3 separate regions of the Homo sapiens genome follow, and regions 1 and 3 are each linked to region 2. Evidence: promoter capture Hi-C in human tissues and cell types (Jung and others, 2019). All regions are on one chromosome and are shown on one strand. The core of a region is centred on a gene start or on the middle of the fragment in contact, and the rest is flanking DNA. Distances in the headings are between cores, read along the strand shown.

Region 1 (4,290 bases), core at 1,092-3,591, 190 kb after region 2:
TTTTCATCTTACAAAAAGCTTATTTAAAAAACATACAGATCAGAAAACTGGAAAAATCTGACTCTGACTTTAAGTATACGAAATACAAATTTTCATGCCTACATTTTATTATTAATGCATGGTCAGTTTGCTCTGGGTTTAGTCATGTTACAAAGTAGAATCTTATTTATTCCATTTCCACCTACGCTGTTTAAAAAGAATTAATTTAAAAAAGTCCTAGGTCACTGCCATGTAAATTTAATAGAAACTATGAGCACACAACCATCTACAAACCAAAAACGGACCCAGTCTCTGGTCTGAGGAGTAACGGCCCAAATCACAGGATGTGCTGTGGCAGTGGGTTACCTCTTTGGAAACAATACCTTATTTCTCCTGAATATTCAAAGAACAAAAAGGACATAACCAAAGTCACCTGGGGAAAATAGTTTTAAATCCTAAATTTGATTCTGAAAGTTTTTCAGAGGCCAAAAAATTTTCAACATTAGAAACAAACAAATAGTTACAGGTTTTCAAGCTATGATAATTTACGGTTTTTAACACTCTGAAACTACTAAAAAACCATAAATTATCATTAACCTCTCTTCTATATTTCTGGAAATACTGTAGGTGGGAAGAATTATCTAGGTAATAATTAAAGCTTTCCCCCTATGTTGCTTTAATATAGCAAATATTGTATTAAAAATCAGTTTAGTATGCTAGATATGGTTTCTAGTTTACATTTTAAAGTCTAATGCAGCCGGGCACAGTTGCTCATGCCTGTAATATCACTCCTTGGGGAGGCTGAGGAAGGAGGATCACTTGAGCCCAGGAGTTTGAGACCAGCCTGGGTAATATAGCAAGACCCTGTCTCTAAAATTTTTTTTTTATAAAGTCTAGTACAAAGTTAGAAAAGTTATGTTATGTCATTAATGACATACTTGTATATCATTAACATGTCACTTGTAACTGTTTTACTCTGCTCAATTTTCATATTGTTGAAAAAACCTCAACACCTTTTAAATCTCCCTTGAAATTTATAATTTATCTCACACGTAGACATTAAAATTCATATCATTCTACTCCTGGCAAATTTAAGAACATGCTTGTAATTAAAAATAAAACTCTATCCTGACTTCTTCAATCTAGTTGAAAAGGGAGTTGCTGCATATCTAATAATGCTGTGCTCAGCAAGCACTTGATCCTCACAAGGAGTCTTATGAACTAGATTTGTCTGAATTTTACAAATTAGCAAACTAAAGTTTAGCAATACAAAGCTGCCTTGTCAAAGGGAGCTAGCAAATGGTAGACCCAGGATTCAAACCCAGCTATGTCTAATTCTGCCACTCCAGCTAGCTCTTAACCACAGCCTCCCAAGACAAGTAAAACATGATCCTTTGCTTCAAGTTTACTTCCCACTTACTGGGAGTAAGTATGACATCCCAAAAGCGTCAGGATTACATCCTGAATGTTTCAGTAAGGTTCTTTTATAAAACCATAAAGACAACCATTAATTTTTAATCAATGCAGAATATAGCTCTGTAATATAAATAAGGGAAATAGAAAATTATCAATAATTTTAGAAAGCTATTCCTCAAATAACAACACAAGTGACGTGCATTTATATAACCAATATTTACTCAGCACTAATTATGTACCAGAGATGCAGCAGTGAACAAACACAAAGCAACTTCTTCTTAAATTCTATCAATTAATATACACATTATTGGTAATTTCATATCCAGTGGATGATTCTGTCAACACTTAGGCCTCCCAATTCCATGAAGTCTTTTCCTCTAATGATCTCATCTCCTACCCTCTCTTGGCCAGATCCCTAGACCTTGTCATTTCCAACTACTTCAATTTCCTAATTTCAAGCATGTCATTCTCTGATCACCACTTCCTAACACTCTAATGTGAGCAATCCTTGATCCAGTGGGACCTACAATGAACTGATCTACCTCTGTTTCCAGCACCTCCTCCTACACCCCCAATTAAAGCTCATGGTCATTCAGTCGTTGCTGTTGTCCTCATATATGCCCTCAACCTTTAGCAAAATCTTTACTCTCTACCTACTCCTCACCTGTAACCATCCAGGTGAGAGAGACTAGGAAAAAAATCCCATGATCACAATGACTGATTTCACTTTAAATCACTATCAGATAGGTACTTTGGAGGACACTTAATGCATCCCTGAATTAATTGCAGTTCCCTAATTCTTTCACCTTCCTAGCTTATTTCTTACTTTTCCACAAACCTGTAACACCTGTTTCAAATGATGTCCTTGCTCCTTATCTTTCTGAGATAACTGAAGCATACAGAAGATAATTCCCCCCAGCTCCCAAATTTGCCTGTCCTCCCTTTTTTATGATTGAACTGTCCAAGAGCCAATTTGAGCTATCAGTTTCTCCTTCTCTGGTACATCATCCCATCAGCCTGCAAACTTACCATTACTTTTCCCACTTAAAAAAAAGCAATTTCTTTCTCCAGCTACAACCCCATTTTTCTGTTCTTTCAAGCAAAATTCTTTAAATAAAAAAAAGGAAAAAAAAAAAAAAAGCAAGCCTGTAATGGCCACCTATAAATCCTCTCTTTTCATTCCCTTCCATACACTGAAATCTGTAAGCATTTTACTCCTGGCACTCTACCACAACCGTTCTGGAAGTCACCAAAGACTTCCACAGTGTCAAATCCAGGGGTCAATTAAATTCTCAGTCCTCACATATCTGTCCTATCAATGATATGACACACTTCTGCATTTGGCTTCCAGGATATCATTGCTCCCTGCTCCTCCAATCTCCTAAGACACTCTCCTTCACTCATTCCTCTGCAGCCTCAAAGGCTTCCTTAATGACTTCAAACATGCTAGGCACTCCTACTTCAGGACTTCTACACTAGCTGTCCCTCATCCCCTCTGTCTGGTATGTTTTTCCTATAGATGTCTGAATGGCTTAAAGTACCATGCAACATTCATTTGAATGTTCTGAGTGATCAAAGTGAAATGGCTACAACCGGAACACAATGAAGAGGTACAGAAAACAAAACTCAAACATCCCAAGGAAATGCGTGTTTTGGAACTTTTGGGGAGACAGCATGGTGCAGCCACATTCCATGATTGGCTCCAGTGGTGATCCAGGAAGTGCCTATGAGTAAGACTTGTATATTTCTCATCACTGCTCTTTCAACTTCTAGCACAGCACCTGACATGTAATAAATATTCAAGTATCTGATGATTGAGTATTGTATCATAAGGTGCTTCCATTTTCCTCGGTTAAATGAGCTGTATTTACACTCAATTTCTGTTCGCTAATGTAAAAAAGATTAGGTAAGTCTACAGTAACACTTTATGCTCCTTGTTAGTAATTGTCAGAAGCAGATTATCAATACAAACTATAACAAATATGTTAAAAAATCTCACTCTAACATACCAAAATATACGTACTTACACAGCGTAGGATTGAAATTAAATTTCAGCTATACGCATATTTAAGTTTTTGAAATGTCATGAAAAAAAGATAATCTTAGTTTTAATCCAAAACCAATGGCTTTAAGACAAAGACTGTAAAGGAAAAAAAAAATTAGGTATAAGGAACAAAGAAGAGGCACATGGAACTTCTGAATTAGGATCCTTTCTGGATACTAACTATATCAATTAGCAAAGTTATTTTTTTCTGTGCCTTTGGCTTTATGTTGCCAATCTCTTATTTCTGTAAGAGAAATATTAATTACTATACACTATGCAAATGCAAAGATCAGTATCAGGCACATAATTAGCTCCCAATACCATAAATCACCTCAAACAGACAGAAAAGCAATAGAAAATACAAGATAAAAGACATGTTGGCTAATACTTACACCAGGCAGCTGAGGTCTGCCAGATCATCGATGAAATCAAACAACTGACTGATGTCATATGTGATAGAGGGACTGTTGGGATTCATTCTTTTCAGATGTTCTTCATACATTTTACAAACACCTAAGAAAGGATAGGAAAAAAAGCAAAATCTTACAATCGCATACACTTCTAGATATGAGCAGTGCTTATGAGCTGTGCTATATGTTGATATCATATTTACTTTAATAAAGTTGGGCTGGGGAAAAGATGATAGATTGATGGCTTTTGATTATTGCCACTAGCAAATACTTTTTTATTTTATAAATTCACCAGGTCAGGTGTAGTGGCTTACGCCTGTAATCCCAGCTCTTTGGGAGGCTGAGGCAGGAGCATCACTTGAGCCCCACAGTTTAAGACCAGCCTGCCTGGGCAACACAGGGAGACCTCATCTCTACAAAAATTAAAAAATTAGCCAGGCG
Region 2 (4,533 bases), core at 1,716-4,215:
TTTTTTTTTTTGATGGAGCCTCGCTCTGTTGCCCATGCTGGAATGCATTGGCACGATCTCGGCTTACTGCAACCTCCGTTTCCCCAGTTCAAGCAGTTCTCCTGCCTCAGTCTCCCAAGTAGCTGGGTTTACAGGCATCGGCCACTGTGCCTGGCTAATTTTTGTATTTTTAGTAGAGACAGGGTTTCACCGTGTTGGCCAGGCTGGTCTTGAACTCCTGACCTCAGGTGATCCTCCTGCCTCAGCCTCCCAAACTGCTGGGATTACAGGCATGAGCCACCGCACCCAGCTTCATGATTGATTTCTAACTTAATTGCAATGTAGTCAGAGAATGTGATCTGTATGATAGCAATTTTTTGCAATTTGTAAAAAGTTGCTCAATAGCCTACATTTTTAAAAATTATTTGATTTTAAAAACAGCAACCAGTTAGATAATCAATGGCCTAAATCAAAATTAATTTTCTTAAATCTTCCCTGTAAATGTGAAAAGTATATTTGAGAACAATTTGTGTTTTCACATCGTTGAGGACATAGTTCTTTTCTTTGTCTTCCTCAGGAATGGAGGGTTCTTTACATAGTTCTATACATGCTCCTTAGAAAAGGTTAATTAATTATGTCAGACATTCCCATAATGACTGGTGATTCTTGGATGTCTTCTCATATTTAAAAGTGAGAAACTGTATTTTAAAAGCTGATTAGAAATTCTGTATGCACAGATGAGTCTTGTTGACTGGGCCTTAATGTAGAGTGATTGCTTGTGAACCCAGACAGTTCTTTATGAAATCCTCCAAATGTCAATATTCTGCTATTCTTTTTGTTTTTAATTATTAATTTTTGTGGGCACACAGTAGATGTACATATTTATGGGGTACATGAGATATTTTGATACAAGCATACAATGTATCTGCCATTCTAATCTAATTTCTATCTTTTAAAATTGTATCTTTTTTTTTAGTTTGGTACTATGTCCTTTCCTGTTCTTTCTTCTTTGGGTTAACAAACTTTTCACTCCTTTACTATCATTTTTAAAAACCCTTTTATCGAAGTATATATGAAACCAGAAAAGTGCTCACAAATATAACCTGAACACACATGTAAAGCCGCACTCAGATTAAGAAATAGAACATTATCAGCACTTCGTGAACCTCCTCATGTTCCCTTCCAGTTATTACTACCCTAAGATTAATCATTATATACAGTGACTTCTAATAGCAGGGATATTTGGGTAGTTTCCCGTTTGGGGCTGTTGAAAGTATGGGTATGAGCTTTTTTTTGTACATGTCCTTTTGGTGAATACATGCAGACATTTCAGTTGCATATATATAACTAGGAGTAAAATTGTTTTTTGTTGTTTTTGTTTTCGAGACAGGGTCTAGCTCTGTCACCTATGCTGGACTGCAGTGGTGTGATCACAACTCACTGCAGCCTCAAACTCCAGGGATCAAGACGTCCTCCTGCCTAAGCTTCTGGAGTAGCTGGGACTACAGGTGCACACCATGATGCCCAGCACTTTGGGAGGCCGAGGTGGGAGGATCGCTTGAGGCCAGGAGTTCAAGACCAGCCTGGGCAACACAGTGAAAATCCCTAAAGTGCTGGGATGACACGTTGAGCCACTGTGCCCCAGCTAGGGGTGAAATTGTTGGAACAAAGTCTTTTCACATATTCAGATTCAGTTGATACCGCCAAACAGTTAAACAAAGTGATTGCATCAATTTATGTTCCCTTCAGGAGCATATGAGAGTTGTGGTTGCTCCACAATCTTGCCAATACTTGACATTTTCTTTTTCATTTAGCTATATCTCATTGTGGTTTTAATTTGCATTTCCTCTTTATCCTTTGTTTTTTAAGTGTTTCAAGATGGAGCAGATAAAAATTCAGGGAGTTAATCCTCTATAATAGCTGGAAATTTCCCCCATGGGTACTCATTCAATGGAATTTAAAACATTTGCCCCTGTATTGAAGGCAATATAGTATAAAGGATGGGGCCACATGCTCTGCAATCAGAAATATGAGGTTTGATTCCTAACTCCGGTGCTTACTTGCTGAATTACCTTGAGGAAGTTATTTAACCTTTTTCTATTTTATGTAAAACGGCACTAATAATAGTACTGCCTCACAGGGTTGTTATGGGGATTAAAGGAGAAAAAATAAGTAAAATGCTTTGCAAAGTTCCTAGCAACAGGTGAGCACAAAGTCAACAAATGGTAGCTATTATTATACCTTATATTGGTTATTTATGCACATCTCATTTCTCCTTCTGTTTTACACATTCCATGAGAAAGGAAAAGCATGCATGTAGCACAGATTAACTGCCTCACATATAATTGCTAATAAAGACTGATTGGATGAACGATTTAATATATAAACAAAAAGTATTGTGGTTATCGCTATAAAAGATGGCATAGGTTGGGCATTCACGCCTGTAATCCCAGCACTTTGGGAGGCCGAGTTGTGAGGTTCGCTTGAGCCCAGGAGTTCGAGACCAGCCTAGGCAATGTAGGGAGACAGTATCTACAAAAAAAAAAAAAAAAAAAAAAAAGGAGGGTACATAAAATTATTATAGTGGCTATAGGATAATGTGCACTGCTAATGAAGACTACATTATTTAAATACAGTGTCTTTCCTTCTATTTACTGTTATCGTTTAGCAGAAAAACAGTACGCAGGATACTAAAGAAGGAAAATTCGATGTCCCATATTACATTTGTGAGAGTTCTGGAGGTTTCTCCCTTCAAAGCCAAAACCAAAACACAAACATACCATCCCAGTAACAAATGCGTCACTTTTCTGAAGAAGACGTTAAGCCCTTCCAATTTTAACAGATCCTTTGTTCAACAGAGGAGAGAGACTGGGTAGGCATCACCTGCCCCAGTAGCTTCCGTACAAAATGGCGTTGCCCGTTCCCACACGCCAGCTGGGATTACGTCCTCCAGGCCTGTCGCAGGAACGGAAGTGGTTACGGCCCTAGTGAATCCGGGTGGGTGCGCGCAGGCGGCCGCACAGGTTCCAGGTCTTTAACGTGAGCCCGCTGCAGGTGTGCGGCCCAGTCCGAGACAGCAGGTAAGTGAGGCTCAGAAGCCGGCGAAGCCTTGCACCAGGATTGTGCGCGGGGCAGGGGGTGCTTCCAGTGCAGACTAAGAGGGGTCGTGGAGCGGGGGGATATTACCGTGTACGGGGGTGACATTGCGGGGCCCCCGCTGTCCCGGAGCGAGTTGGCCCTGCCCCTCTCCCCGCCCCTCGGCGTGACCCCCTCGCCCCCGTCGCACACGGCGGGGCGGTTCAGCACCCAGGTGCGCAAGGAGGGCCTCACCCCTGCCCGCGGCCTCCCACGCCCTCCTTGGGCCTCTCCTTTCGACCCCCTTACCCTCTCCCTGGGAGACTCTACCAGACCTTCGAGGCTGCGTGTCCCAGTCAGCTAAAAAGGAGGCCCCGCCCGCGGCACCTGGTAGCTCCTCGGGCGCTGCGGGTTCGACGCGGCAACAGCTGCTGTTTTCTCTCCTGGATTCGTGTGAGCCGCCACCCTCGCTACCATCCCTGTCCTCCCAGACCACACCCTGCTCTGGGCCTTGCCGGGAGCCACCTCTTTGGCTTTTCACATCCCTGGGATGGATCAAAACTAAGAACCTTAATCATTATTTATTACAAAATTGACATCTGCTCCTTAAAATACAAACAAACCAATCCCCCGATAAGCTTTTGATATGATTCCAACATTCAAACTCCTTTATATACCCTCTCCTCAAAAACACAAAATTGAAATTATACTTTATTTTCTTAGTTCTGTTCCAAGGATAGAAGGAATTGAAAGGTTTTGTTAATCATAGGAATTAGGAAGTGCGGGTTGGGGCGCAGCGGGGAAGATGGATTAAATTTGGTCAAGTTGAGCTTGTTTTAAAAATGTATTTTTAAAATATTCTAGTTATAGTCCGTGCATAAAGCCTTGTAACAAAATTATGTAAAAATTTTAAACACAGATCTTTCTTAGCTTGATGTTCTTGGTGGTGAGGGTGGGGAGTGTGGAAGACAGATCCTCTTTGATTTTGTTTTTTTCCATCTCCACCTTCTTTACCAGTCCCTTTCCCACAAAATAAGAACTGTTGTCAGTTTGTGTGTATTTTTCTTTGCATTTATTTGACAAGTATGTGTACGTATAAGATATATGTTTGTAAGATTTCGCTTTAAACTTTTACAAATATGCATGTTTTATGCATTACACAACTTGACGTTTTATGCTTAAAAACGGGTCTTGGAATTTTTTCTTTGTCAGTACCTAGAGATCTACCTATTCTTTCTACTTGCTCTGTAAATTCCATGGTTATGTAAGATTCCATAGATTGTTTCCAGTTTTTCATTGTTAGACACAGTATGGCGGAGAACATCCTTCCCACACACCTCTGTGAGAGCCCATGTGAGAGCATTTCTCAAGGATGGGTACCTGCAGGTGGAATTGCTGGGTGGGAGAGTATGGGGATTTAGGAATGCCAAACTGCCACCCACGGTGGATAATAATTTCCTCCATTCTCTCTCTCTTTTT
Region 3 (4,385 bases), core at 728-3,227, 170 kb after region 2:
GCAGTGCTTAGAGCTCCGGGGGGTTCCCCCTCCTAGAACATGCAAGCTCTCACACCGGTGCGTCATCATCACACCCATCATCAAGCCCACAGTGGTATACTGAACACCTGCCCCACAAAGACGGTGGAATGCTCTCAGAGGAGCCCCATGAACCACCGATGGTTACAACTATCCAATGCCTGATGGCAGACAGCCAGGCCAACCTCGGCTTCCACTCTCTCTTCCTCACCCTACAATCAGCCAAAGTGACCTGAGTCGTGTAGTGCGAAGTTGCTTTCTGCTTTCTCTTGTTTGTGCTTTTGCTGTTTCTTCTGCCCCATACTTTGTTAACTCCATGAGTTAAATGCTACCCATTTTCCCAGACAAGTGCTGCTTCTGCAAGGAAACCCTTCCTGATCCCCCACCTGTCTGAAAAGTACCTCTCCAGCTTGCTTCTTCAGGGTGCTGAGCGTTCCTTCCCAGCCTGTCATCACCTTCCTCCATACGCTATGGTGTGTTCCTGTCTTCTCTAGTCTTGTCCTCTTTTTTCTGTTAGATTGTAGCTCCTTGCTGACAGGAACCACGCCTGCTCCAGCTTCATACCTCCCACTGCTACAGCACAGAACCTGCTTCTCAGACTTACAGCAAATGTTTGTTTGCTGAATGAATTAATTAAAGATAAAGCATTCTAACTGGGTTTGTTTTTGTTTTGCTTTGTCTTTTAATGATAAAGCATTTTGGCATTTAGGAATTAGTACACTGCACATAGAAAGCACGCAATATACACTTGTCCATTTTTCGTCTCACTTCTTACAAGTTTGATGTTGCCACAACTCCACCCTCCCTATTCATTAGTTGTCTCAACAGCAATGTGTTGGTGATGCTGAGGACTGACACAGATTGAGCACTTTCTGGGTACCCAGAATCTTAGTAAGGCTACCATATGCACTCCAATGAGGTAGGTTCTCATACACTCACTTTATGGATGAGGAGGGGAGGCTCAGTTGAGAGAAGAAATTTGCCCAAGGATAAACAGCTAGGTTTAAACTCACTCTCACAGGAGCATGTGTCAATGGTCCCACAGACCAGCCCCTTCAGCTGGGAACTTATTAGAAATGTAAACTCTGGGCCAGACGCGGTGGCTCACGCCTGGAATTCCAGCACTTTGGGAGGCCGCGGTGGGCAATCACAAGGTCAGGAGATCGAGACCATCCTGGCTAATGTGGTGAAACCCCATCTCTACTAAAAATACAAAAAATTATCCAGGCGGGTGGCACACGCCTGTAGTCCCAGCTACTCGGGAGGCTGAGGCAGGAGAATCACTTGAACCCAGGAGGCAGAGGTTGCAGTGAGCCGAGATTGTGTCATTGCACTCCAGCCTGGCGACGGAGTGGGACTCTGTCTCAAAAATAAAATAAAATAAAATAAAGAAAAAAAGAAATGCAAACTCTTGGCCAGGCACAGCGATTCCTGCCTAGAATCCCAGCACTTTGGGAGGCTAAGGTAGGAGGACCACTTGAACTCAGGAGTTTGAAACCAGCCTGGGCAAAATAGTGAGACCTCATCTATACTATAAATTTAAAAATTAGCCAGGTGTGGTGGTGCATGCCTGTAGTCCCAGCTACTCAGAAGGCTGAGGCGGGAGGATCACTTGATCCCAGGAGGTTGAGGCTGCAGTGAGTTATGATTGCAGCACTGCACTTCCAGCCTGGGCAACAGAGCGAGACCCTATCTCAAAAAGAAAAAAAAAAAAAGAAGAGGCCGATTAGGAGACTGAGACAGGTGGATCACTTGAGGCCAGGAGTTCGAGACCAGCCTGGCCAACATGGTGAAACCACATCTCTACTAAAAATACAAAAATGAGCTGGGCATGATGCCCAGTGCCTGTAGTCCCAGCTATCTGGGAGGCCGAGGCAGGAGAATCCCTTGAACCCAGGAGGTGGAGGTTGCAGTGAGCTGAGCCTGGGAGACAGAGTGAGACTGTCTAAAAAAAAAAGAAGAAGAAGAAGGAGAAGAAAAGAGAAGAGAGGAGAGGAGAGAAGAATAGAAGAAAAAAAAGGAAAGAAAAAAGAAAAGAAAAGAAATGAAGAAATGCAAACCCTTGGGCCCCACTCAGACCTACTGAATCAGAAACTCTGGGGGTGGGGCCAGCCCTCTGAGTTTAACAAGCCTCTTGGGGATTCTGATGCATGCTCAGGTTTGAGAGCCACTGTTCTGGTGACTGAGATGGGTTCTGGTCCCCTGACGGGGCCACGTGTCACCACGTGGTGCAGAAGGCTCAGAGAGCTGGGTGCTGCGGGCCCTGCCCCTGCTAAGCAAGCTGCCTGCCACAGAGCTCTGGGCAGTGATGGATCACTCTGAGGCGGAGGGAGAGTGGGCACTGGGCTGGGCTGAGGGTTGCCACTGAACCAGCTGCCACATGCCAGCCTCGCTTTGCATGATTTATGAGTTTCTTCCCCAATACCAGCCACATATGGTTGACTTCATTCTAGAAGAGCTTCTGCCTCAGAAGATCTATTAATCAAGGAATCAGTGCTGCATCCTCCAGCCTGCAGGACAGGCATACATTTTACCGTGAGTTACATGGCAAAGCCCTTTCTATGAGTACTCCATTCAATGACATTTATAACTGGTCCTGTCAGTCACTGACCAAACACTGAGACACACATTTTATCTTCTTTGATCTTTACAACTCTATCAGGTAGGTATTTTCAATACCACCCCATTTACAAACTAGATATCAAAGCCCAGAGAAGTTAACATATCTGCCCAAGATTACCCAGCTGGCAGGATGGAGGGCCAGGATTTAAAATCATGAAGTCTGATCCAGGGTCCATGCTCCTTGCTGCTCCTTATTGCCTTTCACCCATCAGTCTGTATATTCATAGAACACTGACATGTTTGTACTGTTATCCCCATGTTGCACTTGAGGACACTGAGGCCCTGTGCAAAGCTCTAACAGGCTGAGAGCTTTTGTCCCCACATCCCGTATCCTTACATGGCTGATTCTTAGAATGGAGGTAGGATGAGCCAACGTTGGTTCCACAATCATCATTTTGCAGATGTAGAAACAGGATGAGAGGCTAAAGCACCTAAAGTCACAGGGGGCCCAGTGCGGTGGCTCACACCTGTAATCCCAGCACTTTGGGAGGCCGAGGCAGGTGGATCACCTGAGGTCAGGAGTTCAAGACCAGCCTGGCATGGATGGCGAAACTCCGTCTCTACTAAAAAAACAATAATTAGCCAGGTGTGGTGGCGCATGCCTATAATCCCAGCTCCTCAGGAGGCTGAGGCAGGAAAAATGCTTGAACCTGGGAGGCGGAGACTGCAGTAAGCCGAAATCACGCCACTGCACTCCAGCCTGGGTGACAGAATGAGACTCCATCTCAAAATAAATAAATAAATAATAAAGTCACAGGGCAGGAAATTGGGAGCACAGGACATGGTAGATCCAAGAATACAATGTCCCGTGATGTAGCTCTGGAGGCGATTGCGAATGGTCTGCCTTGGGGCCAGGCATCTTCTCTGGGGCTCGGGAGGGTGAGACCCCTGACTGAGCTGGCCTGAGGGCCCAGGGCTATGTCCAGCATGGCCTGTTTTCTCCCTGCCTCCTGGCCAGGGGTATTTGTTCCCAATGTCCTCCCGGCCTCAGGGTTCTCTGCTCTGCCTTATTTGTCCTCAGACATTCGTTTTGAGCTTGTTCAGACCCGTGTGTACTCTGCCTTGTGGCTTTGTCCACTTGAGGTGGAGGCTCCAGGGTGCTTTGTGGAGCCCCACAGCTTCCACCAGGTGCCTGGATCTCTGCATGCTCATTAAGCAGTGAGGCTTATTTAAAATTATTATAACCAAATGTGTCCATCTCAGTTATTTCTTGGCTGGTTTTCTGTGTTGGACTGCAGGGATAGAGAGGAGAGTTCAGCCTCACAATAAGAGAACAATTGCTGTAGCTCTGGCCCAGCTATTTCTGAGCTGGGAGACTTTTAGCCAGCTGCTTAGGCATCCTGAGCCTCACTGTTCTCAACTGAAAAATGGGTATGATGTGGGAGCAGATCAAATGGGAAAATGTCTGTCATCAGGTCTTGTAAAGTGGAAACAGCAGTCTGGGAATCCTCAGGATACGTTTATGCGACCCTGGGCAGGCCAGAGCTGCTAGACTCTAAAGCTTTGAATTTTCCAGCTGGTCAGGACTGTCTCCAGCCACCAGGGCAAGACTTTGCAGCTCAGACATGGTGGCCTGAAATGGTGGGAAGTTGACCAGAGAGAGGAGGCTGGGGAGTCCCAGCACCTACTTCGTTCCTGAGTGGAAGACTGCTGGTCTGGCTTTGAAACCTTGCTTCATGACACTTGCTTTACCTTGTGAAGAAAGCAAAGTGAGTTCAGCAGGGGACTTGATGTTTCAACAAGGC

What was found. Contacts are between HindIII fragments. The study calls those that stand out against the background at their distance.
Region 1: a fragment that was not itself captured here is called in contact with the fragment with the promoter of EXD2 in region 2 in 1 of the 25 tissues and cell types used here (IMR-90 fibroblasts).
Region 3: a contact is called between a fragment that was not itself captured here and the fragment with the promoter of EXD2 in region 2, in 1 of the 25 tissues and cell types used here (IMR-90 fibroblasts).

What each region holds. Positions count from the first base shown.
Region 1 is chr14:69,383,132-69,387,421 of GRCh38, forward strand. ERH (ERH mRNA splicing and mitosis factor) reads right to left here. Exons shown (of 4, transcript NM_004450.3): 3 at 3,832-3,952. It also overlaps a transcript of GALNT16 not described here. Among named protein-coding and RNA genes, the nearest start is that of ERH, 13 kb to the right of the region's middle. The HindIII fragment of the contact is 7,932 bases long and covers 1-4,290 here.
Region 2 is chr14:69,188,533-69,193,065 of GRCh38, forward strand. EXD2 (exonuclease 3'-5' domain containing 2) reads left to right here and starts at 2,966. Exons shown (of 10, transcript NM_001193360.2): 1 at 2,966-3,059. All of the region lies in intron 3 of GALNT16-AS1 (GALNT16 and EXD2 antisense RNA 1), which reads right to left. RefSeq lists a silencer at 3,187-3,376. The HindIII fragment of the contact is 7,126 bases long and covers 1-4,533 here.
Region 3 is chr14:69,358,640-69,363,024 of GRCh38, forward strand. It overlaps a transcript of GALNT16 not described here. Among named protein-coding and RNA genes, the nearest start is that of ERH, 37 kb to the right of the region's middle. RefSeq lists an enhancer at 2,308-2,387. The HindIII fragment of the contact is 6,134 bases long and covers 1-4,385 here.